Linked DNA regions of Homo sapiens: region 1 is linked to region 2. The links are contacts of gene promoters, found by promoter capture Hi-C in blood cells and fetal thymus (Javierre and others, 2016). All regions are on one chromosome and are shown on one strand. Each heading gives the region's core, a stretch centred on a gene start or on the middle of the fragment in contact. The rest is flanking DNA. Distances are from core to core; before and after follow the strand shown. Region 1 holds the start of LOC105377517 (a long non-coding RNA gene). Region 2 holds the start of KLHL2 (kelch like family member 2).

The links. Contacts are between HindIII fragments. The CHiCAGO score rates a contact against its expected background, and 5 or more counts as called.
Region 1: a fragment that was not itself captured here is called in contact with the fragment with the promoter of KLHL2 in region 2 in 4 of 17 cell types (naive CD8 T cells, activated CD4 T cells, monocytes and 1 more); the score reaches 9.7 in naive CD8 T cells.

What each region holds. Positions count from the first base shown.
Region 1 is chr4:163,167,535-163,174,386 of GRCh38, forward strand. It overlaps LOC105377517 (a long non-coding RNA gene), which reads left to right and starts at 4,742. Exons shown (of 3, transcript XR_939414.2): 1 at 4,742-4,824. The HindIII fragment of the contact is 3,131 bases long and covers 2,094-5,224 here.
Region 2 is chr4:165,205,018-165,211,417 of GRCh38, forward strand. KLHL2 (kelch like family member 2) reads left to right here and starts at 2,544. Exons shown (of 15, transcript NM_007246.4): 1 at 2,544-2,885. The coding sequence starts at 2,860. RefSeq lists an enhancer at 2,165-2,665 and a silencer at 2,196-2,845. The HindIII fragment of the contact is 2,287 bases long and covers 1,576-3,862 here.

The sequences.
Region 1 (6,852 bases), core at 2,409-4,908, 2.0 Mb before region 2:
AGTTTATCCATCAATAGATCCATCTGTCGATAGATAGGGTATTAACCATTTTTTCAAAAATGTAACTACAACTATTCCATTTTCCTTTCTCCAAAGTACCCTCAAAGAGAGCAGTAATGGACAAAATTTTGCTGTGTTGTTCATGTTATGGTGATGTCTATATCATACTTAGCACTGTTTCGTAGTAGAGAGATGAGACTATGAGACTGAAATGTACTCACTTATTGTTGGAAACCACTAGTCTAAATTGTGGAGAAAGCAAGCAGAGTTCTTAGGACTGAGGAAGAGATCAGAATTTTCTGGTTTCCTATTAGGTCTTCAGTTTGAGGCATCAGTCCCTGTGTAGTAATAATAATCATTGATACCATTTGTTAAACATGCATATGTGCCAAGGACTGTGCTAAAGATTTTATAAATTATTCACTGAGAATTTAGTGTGTCATCTACAACAGTAGATCTTCATAGAAATGCAAGGCAAGTGTAATAAGAGTAAGGTTTTAAGAAGCTTACAATCTACTTGAAGTAGAGAAGGGCAATGCACAGGAGATAACTAGAAAAATATTTGAAATATGAAATAGAAAATCCAAGTGCAGCAGAAATGGGAAGTAGGATTGGTAGGCTATTTCATGGAAATCCTCCAAAGTGAAGAAGGACTTTAAACTTGGGATACGAACTTACTAGCACAATGATTAAGCAGAGCTCAGAGTTTTCAACTAAAAAGACCTGTGTTCAGGCCTCAGCTCTACCATTTTGTGTTTGGTGTTACTGACTTTGGGCAGTTAATCTAAATCCTAATTTCCTTATCTGTAAAATGGAGATAAAAATACTATCTCATTTAGTTCATGTGAGCACTAAGTAAGGCTTTATATAAGGGAGTGGCATGTCATACATTCAGTGTGCAAAAATACTTGGAAAATGGAACAATGCATGAACTCACGAATAAAATATTTAATTAACAATGATCTTGCAAAGACATGCAGTACAGATTTGAGAAGGGAAGACGTTTGAGCCAGAATTATTCCCCAGCCAGCCACTTTGTTGCATTTTTCCAGGAATTAGGTGATAAAAGTCTGAACTAGGCTTACAGTCAATGAAATAGAGTAAAGGACATCCCCAGCATCAGGGGAAGAATAAAAGTACTCTAAAATTTCTGGTCAAGGAAATTAGAAAGAAGTTGGTATTACCAATAAAAACGGAGAAGTTGGCCAGTCGCAGGGCCTCACGCCTGTAATTCCAGCATTTTGGGAGGCTGAGGTAGGCAGATCACCTGAGGCCGGGAGTTTGAGACCAGCCTGGCCAACATGACGAAAACCCATCTCTTCTAAAAATACAAAAACTTAGCTGGGCATGGTGGTGGGCACCTGTAATCCCAGCTACTTGGGAGGCTGAGGCAGGAGAATCGCTTGAACTCAGGAGGCAAAGGCTGCAGTGAGCCAAGATTGCACCATTGCACTCCAGCCTAGGCAACAAGAGGGAAACTCCCTCTCAAATTAATTAATTAATTAATTAAACGGAGAAGTTGGAAAGAGATGTGGGTATGTGAAGTTGAGTCTGAAGAAAAACTAGACAATTAAAAATGTAAATAGGCATTTAAAAATAAGAAACTGGAATTTGACAGAAAGGTTAAGACCAGAAGCCTAAGTTATGGGATAATTGAAATACTCATTTGTTCATTCAGTAATCATTTTCTTAACATTACGATATGCTGTGCACTGCATTATAAACTATGCATACAGGAAGATAAACACAGTCCCTACCCTTATGGAGTTAACAGTTCAGTAGAACAGACAAGTTGAAAACAAGCAGAAGGTACTATAGTAGAGAAATGTACCATGTAAATGCAAGAATGTATGAAATGGGAAAACTAAAGACAGAGAAGATACTTGGAAAATTAAGGAAAATGTACTATAAGAGATATATCGTGGCTATAAGAGTAATTATAGCCATAAGGCTCACTCAAGTGTCTTGAGGGGCTGACACTAAATGTATTTATCAATATAATACTAACTGGCCCTGGAGATTTCCACCCCTGGCCCAGTGATTTCCAGGAGACCAGGCCACTTCAGCACAGATGCAACTTTCATGAACCTTAAAGCTTACCCTTGTAAGAATAGCTTCGACTCCATTTATGAGAGAAACATCTGATAACTGACCAAGCTGAATACAGGTTTTAAAAAGGGGGAAGAAACCCCCAACACTGAGAACAGTCTCTGGTTGGAGGCTCTCTTGATCATCCGAGCCCTGACTATCTGGTCTATACCCCCAGCCTCTTCCCACTATCTTTTAAGAGCGATGCCAGAATAAACTACTAAAGCATGAGACAGTCTCTAAGACTCATCTTTGACTTGAATAGAACTGAATGGGAGAAGTCACCTCTAGGAAAGCTGGTTAAACAGGACCACCCAACCACTGCCTCACTGACAATGACAAAAGGCTTTACAATGCGTGTGATACTTGAGCTGGACTTTTAAAGAGAACCATGAATTTGTTAATCTGAGAAAACAGGAGACCTTCACAGGGGATAATAAATAAGATCATTGTAATTTCCTGCTTAATTATTTATAAACTCTAAATATTTGTAAGCACACTTAGAATAAAATTCAGACTCCCTGCTTTGGCTTTCAACAGTCTACCTGATCTGGCCACTACTTACCTCTCCAGTTTCTATCTCCTACCGTCTTCCCCACCCTTGTTTCACATGAGCACTGGTCTTGATCTCCCTTCAACTCACCAAGTTAATTCTTCACGTGTGACATTTTCACTTTTCTGTTCTCTCTTCTCTTCATATTAACGTGGCCTTTTTACTCATTTATGGTTCTACTCAAACACTACACCTAAGAGAGAGCTTTCCAGACCACCCAATCTAAGTGCACCCCTCAATACCAATCACTTCCTAGCTTATAGCTCACTGTTTTTATTTAAATAGTATTTATCTTCACATGAAATTATATTTATTTACTTCTTTATTGTCTGTTTTTTCATAAAATTAAGTCTCAGGTGCCCAGGATCTTTGTCTAATTCACAGCTGTTTCTCTAAGTGCCTGGAAACAGAATAAATCCTATAAGGATTTTTGAATGGATGAATGAAAGAAAGAAAGAATAAAGCTCAATGGGACAATCAGAGTAAGGAATATGACTTAACAGATAATATCTGTTATTCTTTCAATTTAAATTAATCTGATGATATCTAAGAAAGGCTACTGTTTTTAAATAAAAGTCTTTTGTTTGTGTGGTGGAAATGTTTCTGTGTTTCAACATAATGATAGTGGTACCTATGCCTAGCTTTGAAGTAGGTCAGTGTTTCACAAATGGTAATTTTTCTAAGTGCTTGTTTCAGAATGTCCTGAATTTACCTACTTCCACAGCCTTCCTCTCAACCGCATTATTTCTAACAGTTGCTAAACTTAGCCTGAAGTCTTTAACCTAAGACTAAATCCAAAAAAACACCTTGGAAGACTGTGTAGCTTACAGGGTCACTATTAACGTTATGAGAGAATTTACCTTGAATTAAATTACAATTTAAATGGCATATTACATTTCAAAGGGAGCACGTAAAACTTAAATTATTTCTATAAATGTCACTGATTGATCTTAGTCTATTTCAATGTTTAAAAATACATGAATAGACACATTTACATTTCCAGAAACCTACAATGCACTTGCTAGATAAAAATGATGAGATTTTCTAATATATATCACAAAATGATTAAAAGCAGGTTATGTGACTGTTTGGGTGAGTTGCTATTCCTATTTATATATTGTAGCACTAATTTAAGTCAAGGTCATATGTTTGCATTGCCAACTAGTGTAGTAGGGAAAAGAGAGGTATAAGTGCTATTTTAACTCAAAATGGACTGAAACTCTACTGGACTCATTTGAGAGTATGGACAGAAATTATAGATTAGAGACTAGGCATCTCTTGCCACCTAGTCTCCTCTCACACTCAGCTTGTAAGAGAGTGACTTATCAGATAAGAGAGTGACATCTGACTGGTGATCTTGGGAAAAGGAACTGAGCATACTTGGTCCAGTATCTTTGTGTTATAGGAGATAGAAATTATTTAGGTAGAGAGTTAGGGTGAGTCCCAGGCAGAAAACTTTCCTTCTAACAAAAAGCAGCTCAGAAATAGCTCCCTTTTTAACCTCAATCAGTTCAAAGAAATCACTTCCTTTCTAACAAAGAGCAGCCTGGACGCTCAGGCTGTAAAACACATATAAGCAACTAAGGCACAGAGTGGGGAGTTTCCTGGGTAATCACCAAACTTCACATACATACAATGGGTCCCAGTAAAAACAGTGGGCCTTCATAAGCATATCTCTTTCTCTTTCTTTAGGCATACTAAGACAGGGAAGCTGGAAGTAGGCACAGGTGAGATACCTGCAGCTGCAAGAAGGTGCCTGGGAATAGGCACAGACACTCTTCCCTCCCTTTTAGCACACACAAACAGCACAGAGCAGCATAAACTAAGAGTGTACCCACATGATCAAAGAATGGGGTGGGGGCTGATAGAGACCCTGCTCTATGCAGATAGCACACCTGGTCCTAACCATTTGTTCGGGCCCTAGGAAGATAAGTCACACCCTCCTTACTAGCCCATTTATAAAAAACTGACATTTTTTACTACAACTTGGCAACCTGTTTGGGACCCCTCTCCGTGACCGAGAGCTGTTCTTTTCTTTTGCCGAATAAACTCCTGCTCCAGTCTCACTCTCTGTGGTTATGTGTTCATGTTCTTGATTTCCTCAGCTGTGAGACCAAGAACCTTGGTATTTACCCCAGACGATGAGGCCATTTTATACTTGGGGACCCATCCGGGATTTGAAGGTAAATTTATCGGCAGGATGAGTATAGGAGCGGACTCTATACTTTAATTTCCGAGGCTTCTCATCCTCAGTTTTTATTCTCTCAACTATCAAAAACCCAGGCATTTGACAGCTGATTAAGGAGCCACCAGGGCAAGTTGCTGCTCTTGAAGACTCAAAGGAGAGGCTTGCTGGGGAGGACTTAGTCAATCTCCCAGTGTCTTCGGGGTGCTGGGAATGTTGGCCCTGTTCCAAACCAGTTTCCTTTCATGGAGAACCTGGCCATCCTGTGGGGCTGGGAGAGGTCCTGGAGCAACTGAAAATTTCTGTCTGGTCAGGGCTATACCCTGGTGCTATCTAAAGGCTTCTGGACTGTCCCCAGCCCCCAACTGCCCAATCAGGTGTCAGCTACAGGATCTCCAAGCTTTCCTACTGCACATTATACTTTCCTCCTTTCCTTTCCACTGTCACCATGTCTCCCATTTCCTCTCTGTATGCAATGCAGCAGGAGTTTTTACAGCCCTGGAAAAAATTCAATTAGGCAGGCTTAGCAACCACCTTAGAAACCAGGAATGCAGATCAAAGGATTGCTCTTTTTGTGATTTTCTACAGACAGGGAGATTTTCCAGTTCTTTTCTGTTTTGCTTCCCTCTGCTAGAGACCAAACTTTTTGCCCCCTCTGCAAGCGGGAGAACTCTGCTTTCAGCAGTGAGGAGAAAAATGTCCTCCAAAACCACATTTTAATCTCAATACTCTCTCCATTAGCAGAAAGGCTACCATTTGACCTTTATGTTCTCTTAAGACACCTATTCTGCCTACAACTAGAATGGCATCTAAATAGAAAGGGGATTTTGTGTCTCGAAGTTAACTGGAACCACTACCTAAGAATAAATTCTCTAATCTGGTCCATAAGAGCAGATTATAAAGCTCAATCCAGTATACTCCCTCCATTAAGGGGTCTTGCCCAAATGCAATTGTTACATAGTCTCTCTCGAGACCCATCCATCAAGGAGTCATGCAGACCACACAAGTCTAGGAGGTCAAAGGGTAATCACCAAGCAGAGGACTAAGGTCACATGGGCTAGTAGTGTGACTAGCCCCATTGCTTAGTTCTGTGGTACCATGGTTTGAGGGTCATACCTGCAACTATGGGTGGCACTACAGTGCCAGGACCCAGGAACCAAGGAGGGAGAACAGTTGGGGTGATGCTCCCACTGTCTTTCCCCTCCACCCTGGGTCACACTGAAAAGAACAAGGAGACTGAGGGATGCCTCTTGTCTCTTTTCTAAATGGATAACAAGCCATCTTTGGCCTGCACTCCTCTGGAGTACATTCTGAAGCACTGGAACTCCTTTGACCTTGAGACTTTGAAGAAAAAGTGGCTCATTTTCCTTTGCACAAGGGCGTGGCCTTCTTACTATCTTGGAAATGAACAGACCTGGCCAGCTGAAGGAGCCTTGGTTTTAATCTTATCCAACAATTAGACCTTGTTTGTAGATGGGAGGGCAAGTGGCCCAAGCTCCTCTATGTACAGGCTTTCTTTGCCTTGAGAGACAACTCAGACCTTTGCAAGCATTGCACAATCGACTAAGCCCTCTTGATGGCCATATTGGGCAAGTCTGTAGAGAGTAGACTAAGTCAGAAAAGCAAGTTTTTAAGGAGCCATTGGAGGCAACTTCTAAGTGCCCCACCAGTTCTTCCTGTCCCCCTTATCCAGGATGCCCTGTGACTGTGCCATTGGCTCCTCTGGCTCCTCCAGCTCCCCCATCTCCAAAGCTCTCCACTGCCCCATCTTCACTCTGACCCCTACAAAAAATGCCAGATGGAATGGGCACCACTAGGGTGCAAGTTCCCTTCTCATTACAGGACCTTAGGCAAATAAAGGGAGACTTGGGCCAATTTTCTGATGACCCTGATAGGAATATAGAGGCCTTCTAAAATTTAACTCAAGTGTTTGACCTCACGTGGAGGGATGTTATGCTGTTTCTAAGCCAAACCCTCACTGCAGCTGAAAAAGTGGCACTCTGCAGGCAGCAGAGAAGTTCGGAGA
Region 2 (6,400 bases), core at 1,294-3,793:
TCTACTTCCCTGGTTGTTCCTTTACCATCGCCTTTGCTGAGTCCTCCTCCTCTTCTTTTTTAATGTTGGAGTGCCCCAGGGCTTACTTCTTGGTCTACTTCTTTTCTCTAGCTACATAATCTAGTTGATCTCAATACCCATCTGTATACTAACAACTTCCAAATTTATATCTACCCCAGATACATATATCTAATTGTCTACACCTATCTTCACATGGATGTTTAACAGACATCTCAAACTTACCATATCTAAATCAGAGTTTACAAATACAATCTCCACCCCGCCCTCCAATATTTGTTCTTTCTCAATATCCCCAATCCCAGTAAAGGGCAACTCAATTCTCCCCAGAGATCAGAACAAAACCCTTAGGATCATCTTTCTTTTATATGCTAATCTGTCAGCAGTTCCTGAGTACTTTACCTTCTAAACAGATTCAGAACCTGTTCACTTTTCTCAGTCACTCGGACTCTAATCCAAGCCATCCTTACCTTTCATCCCAGCTAGGCTAATCTCTTTGCTTGCTCTCTTGCCTCGCTATGCATGTTGCCCATACAGCAATCAGTCATCTTTTTTTTTAAAAAAAACTTTGTATTATGAACTTTTATTTATTTATGAATTTTGAGACGGAGTCTCGCTCTGTTGCCTGGGCTGGAGTGCAGTGGCCCGATCTCGGCTCACTGCAACCTCCGCCTCCTGGGTTCGAGTGATTCTCCTGCCTCAGCCTCCTCAGTAGCTGGGATTACAGGCACCCACCACCACACCCGGCTATTTTTAGAAGAGACGGGATTTCGCCATGTTGGACAGGCTGGTCTTGAACTCCTGACCTCAGATGATCCGCCCGCCTCGGCCTCCCAAAAAGTGCTGGGATTACAGGCGTGAGCCACCGCGCCCGGCCCATTATTATCTTTTAAAACATACACATAAACACACATAAATGATGACCACCCCTATGCACCCAACACTTAGCCTCAAAAATTAACATTTTGCAAATATTCATCTATTCACTTCTCTGTCCTTTTTTTTTTTTTTTTTGAGACGGAGTTTGTTTCGCTCTTGTTGACCGGGCTGGAGTGCAATGGCACGATCTCGGCTCATCGCAACCTCTGCCTCCCTAGTTCAAGCGATTCTCCTGCCTCAGCCTCCCGAGTAGCTGGAATTACAGGCATGCACCACCATGCCCGGCTAATTTTTTGTATTTTTAGTAGAGACGGGGTTTCTCCATGTTGGTCAGGCGGATCTCGAACTCCCGACCTCAGGTGATCGGCCCGCCTCGGCCTCCCAAAGTGCTGGGATTACAGGCGTGAGCCACGGCGCCCGACCTCTGTCCTTCTTTTTGTGGGATATTTTCAAACAAATCCCAGAAAAGTCATCCTTTTAATGATCAGATCAAGCTACTCACCACTTTCTAATTGCTTCTAATCTCAGTAAAAGCCAAGTCCTTTATCACGGCCTGCAAGGCCTGGGTGATCTGTGATTACTCCTCGCCACACCCATTCCTGCCGCCGTCCTCCTGACCTCACTCTGCTTCATTAGAGGGTCTCCCACCCTCGCGGCCCCAGCAAGCATCATCTGGAAAGCTTGTTAAAGCACACGCTGCTGGGCCCCACCCCCAGAGTTTCTGGTTCAGTAGGGCTAAAGTGGGACTGGAAAATTCGCATCTCTAACAAGTTCGCAGGTGCTACTGCTTCCAGCGGGCATACTTGGAGAACCACCAGCTGCACTGTTCTCCTTCCCGTTCCTCAACAAGGCAGGCAGGATCTTGCTTAGCAGTCTCCACGCTGCTCTTCCCTCTGCCCTAGGCATTCTTTGCATTACTCAAAGCCCCTGTTATTCCATCTCTTTAACTCATGCCTTTTGAGAGGCCTTCTCTGACCACTCTTTCTAAAATCTCTTTCCCTCTCCTCATCCTCATTTATGTTTCTTCATGGTAAGCATCACTTACTGTTTCCGTCACCCCGTCTAGATGGACAGCTCCACAAGCAGAAAGACTTGGTTTTGCTGTCACAGCCGCAGCACTAAAACCTTGCTTAGCAGGTGCTCACTTCACTTGTCCAAGGAATGGCTAGCATACTGAGGAGGGAGAGCCTGCTTCCTGCCTGGGACACTGGACAGGCAAATCACTTCTTCTTGCCTCAGTGCCACCCTTTGTAAGGACACTGGTTGGTTATGCCTACCCTTCCCATCTCCCTGGGTACAGGCACAAATGAAAAGAATAACGTGTACACGCCCGCGAAGCAGAGCAGCAAGTGGATACCGAGCATTATTACGCCGTGCGTTCGGCCGCCCTTTTTCTGCACGGAGAACCCCCTCCGCTCCCATTTTCCAGCGCCCCCGTCCCGGCGATCCAGAGACCCGCTGTGGGCGGCCGCCGCCCGCGTCCCGGCCTGCGGGCCAGCGTCTGGGCACGCCCGCCCCGCACCCGGCTGGCGCCCGCCCGCCCGCCTCCAGAAGCAGAAGCGGCAGCGGCAGCGGCAGCAGCAGCAGCAGGAGGAAGGGGAGGCGCCGAGGGAGGGGTACTCGGCCGCCGCGGGAGGCCGCATCGCAGTCCCGTCACAGCGTCGGCGCCGGCCGGGGCCGAACCCGGAAGTGGCCGAGCCCGCGCGCCCGCCGGTCCCGTCGCCGCCGCCCCGCACTCGGGCGAGCGCGGGAGCCGCGCAGTAGACGGAGCGCGCCCGGCCGAGCGGGCCATGGCCGCGGGGGCCGCCGCCGCAGGTGGTGGCGCGCGGTGAGGAGAGCGCGGCGCCCCCTCCGGGGCGGATGGAACGCGGCTCGGCGGGCGGGCAGTGCCGGCGTCCGCGGCTGGAATGGTGCTGGCTGTGTTGGTCGGTGCCTGCGTTCTGAAGCCCGAGAGGAGCCACAATGGAGACGCCGCCGCTGCCTCCCGCGTGAGTGAGCGGGCGGGCGGGCTGCGCCGCTGCGGATAAGCGCGCCGCTGCGGCGCGTGTCGCCGGCCGCGGGCGCAGCTCTGGGGACAGCCGCCGGGGCCGGCGGGAGGTGGGAGATGCGGGGCGTGACGAGGCGCTGTGCCCGCAGTCCTGAGCGGACGCGGACGGAAACTCAGCCTGGCCAGGCGGTGACTTAAAACGCTGCCCAGGATTTCTGGGGAAGGGTCTTCCCCATCTCGGGCGGATAGAAGATTCGGGGTGGGGCTGTGCATGGGTGACCCTGCAGGTCCTGTGTGTACCTCCCTGAAATGCATGGGCACCTGGTGCCGAGTTTGCCTACCCCTTTATAAGAGATCAGGCTAGGATGCACTGAGTCCGTTGAAAAAAGGAAACTGGAAAGTACCAGTCACCCGCTGTCTAAATGAATTGATCTTAGGTTGCTTGATTCCCCGAATTTCTAACAAAATTAATATCTGAGGAGCTTTTGCATCACTCTAAATGAGCGGCGGCCGTTCAGGGCATGTGACCTCTTTTACCTGGCACTGCAGAACGTTTTATCCAGAAATCAGCATCTTCTGTTTCGTTCGTACCTCGGGCAAATTAGTAGCGTATCGACCTGCCAGGCACAGGTGTCTTTTTTCTTTGGTACCCAAGTACATTCAAGATCACTGGCAACAGAATTACTTTCTAGAAATAATAGCTGAAACATTATGTAGAAGACATTATTGCATTATTCAGAACAAGGGTTTTTTTTTTAAATTTTAGTTTTTAGTTTTAAAAACATCTTGGTAAAAGTGAACTGTAAATACCCAGGAGTTTCGAAAATTTCAATTTTGGTTCCCTCTTCTCTTAGGAAGGAACAAGAGTCCTTTGAATCTGACTTTTCAAATCGCAGACAAACCTCATCCTGAAGAATGGTTTACCTTTTCATGAGAGCTTATTCATGGAGGCTTGTCGTTCTCCGGTCAAATTTGGCAAGCTTCACTCCATGCCGATTGTACCGCACCAGTCTCTTGTGGTTATTTGGCAGAATTCCAGCCAAAATAAGGATACTTGGCTTGGGTTGAATAATTTTTTGATGTTCAGCCCTTTTAGGAGAGCTAATGGGATTCTGGAACGACAGTTTCTAAAAGTGCGTTTCAGAATTTTTAGCTTGAGTGGAACAGGTCGTGGAAATCTAGGGGGTAGATAAGACTCTTGAATTGGCCTTCCTGGGCTGACAGAAGCAGGGGCTTAGTCACCTCTCGATAGCTGTGGCTTTGAGGGCTCTGAGATTTGGTCATGTTCTTCAGCAGGCTGGAGGAAGGCACCTGAACCCCTAGGAAATATGATGGTGGATGGTTCACATCAGCAGCATGAGCACACGGGGGTCTGCCCAGGCTCAGAAGCACTTAAAGCAGGATATGCTAGCTGTATTTAGCCAACATATGGTATATAATATGTAACATGTAGGTATGCTATCTGTAGTAAACCTGCCTTCTACATAAGTTCCTGCAGTTCGTTTTTACTTTTGGAACAGAGGGAGCTAAAGGAAAGAACAAGGGAATACTTAGAATGCAGGTGAAAAGAAGGGTGTGGGAAAGCAGCCTCTGGAGGGAGGGAGGGAATAGAGACACAGATGATTTAAATTGAAATAATAAAAAATAGAATTGATGTATGCATTGAAACATTGATAAACTGACTCTAGGGTAGATCAGCTAATCATAATTTTGATGACCAGCGCCATTTTTGGCATTGAGATTCCATCAATAGTGCTGGAACAATGAGAGGCTGAGATATAATGGAAAACTTGGAATGCCAGCATGGATGAAAGAATTGTTAAAACTCCTTTCAATCAGGGGTGGCTAAAGTTGGTGAGACTTTTTCATTGTTTCTGTCTATTTAATTATAAATACAAGTAGGTTTTTATTTTCATTTGGTTCTGTCCAGGATTAAACCTAATTCAAGAACTCGTTATGGTGTTATTTGCCATTCTGTGGATCAGAAATAGTTTTTTTCCTTGCCACCCCTTGGCCTGTTTGCCTCCACTCCCATTAACATCCCTCCACCATGGATCCCGTGTGCCGGATTTGAGACTTGCAGGCAGTGTCTTTAGGAAGGAACTTTACCGGGCCTCACTGCCAGAGCTGGGCTAGAACAGAGGCCAGTGGAAACTATTAGGAAGACTCAGCTTTTCATGAAGTTAGATTTTTAGCCTGAGCTTTAAGTCAAAGAAAGATGACCTGGACTTAAAGTGCCTTATGGTATGGTTGGAAGCACGGCCCCAGATTCTCTTTGTGTAAGTGTCTGTTTATTAATTCATTCAATGTGCAAATATTTGAATGCCTGTCTCTGCCTGGCACTGTGCGTGGTGCTTTTGCTTGTGTTCTCTTTTAACATCCAAATTTACATTGTTCTCAGATCCCACCTTGTTCTCCACTGGCCTGTTGGCACATTGTCTTGGAGGGAGGTCAGGCATCTGTACCCACCATTCCTGGTTCCTTCAGGATGGACTCCTTGAAATTAGCTTTTGATCTTTTGTGCTTTTTCTATTCCTTGCCTCCAACTTTCATCCTTTTTAATTCTCATATAATTAAAAATTGTCGTTGGACTATATATTTGTGCTTATTGTTTTTTGCATACTTGAGTATATGTGGCATTTAGATTCTGTTGCATTCTGGGTCTGGGTGATATTGAGACTGTGTTACATTTGCTTCTGATCAAACCTGAAAGATGTGTAACTAAAAGATGTAGCTTAGTAAAGGAATTTCAGGTAGTAAATTGAGAGATGTAGTTTAGATGTAGATTAGTAAAGGAATTTCAGATGGTAAACTGAGATGTGCAAAAGGAAATGTAAATTGACCAGCCCTGACCTCAGGAATGTATTTTACAGTCTGGCTTTTATAGTTATTTGTATAAAGGATTTTCATAATAAGTTGAAGGAAGACTGTGAGGTATAGGCCTGAGTGCATCCCTCTGATCTTCTCTTACTGATCAGTCTTCTTGGCACTTGTTTTTTTACTGGCTCCATTTTCACAAGTCGGCTTACTCTCTGTAAGCCTTGATTTTTTTGCTTTTCCTTCACAAAACTAAGCAAACATCCCTCAGATAGAACCATATCTTTTTTCAGTTGATGGTTCCACATTACTAGAGACTTGTCGTCAGAGGTGGTCATGCATAGGCAGAAAAACAACTTGTTGACCATGTTCTAAGGCATTTAGGCAGCAGAAAATTGGTTGGATTAGAGCAGAGGTTCTCACATTTTTGAATTTAACTGACCTGTAAAATTAAAAAAAGAAAAAAACAATTGAAGTCTAACAATTGCTAAGTTTTTTGTTTTGCTAAGTAAAAGAATTATTTATGAAACAACAATGATCAACTATCACCATCTTTTTATGAAAGAAAAAAACATTTTAGTATCCTTCCTCAAATATAAGGAAGAATATAATCTGACTAAAGGATTGTCTTTAAATTTAAAAAACTTAGCCTTATGAAAACTTATTACATTGTCCTCATTTTGACATAGATCAGTAAAA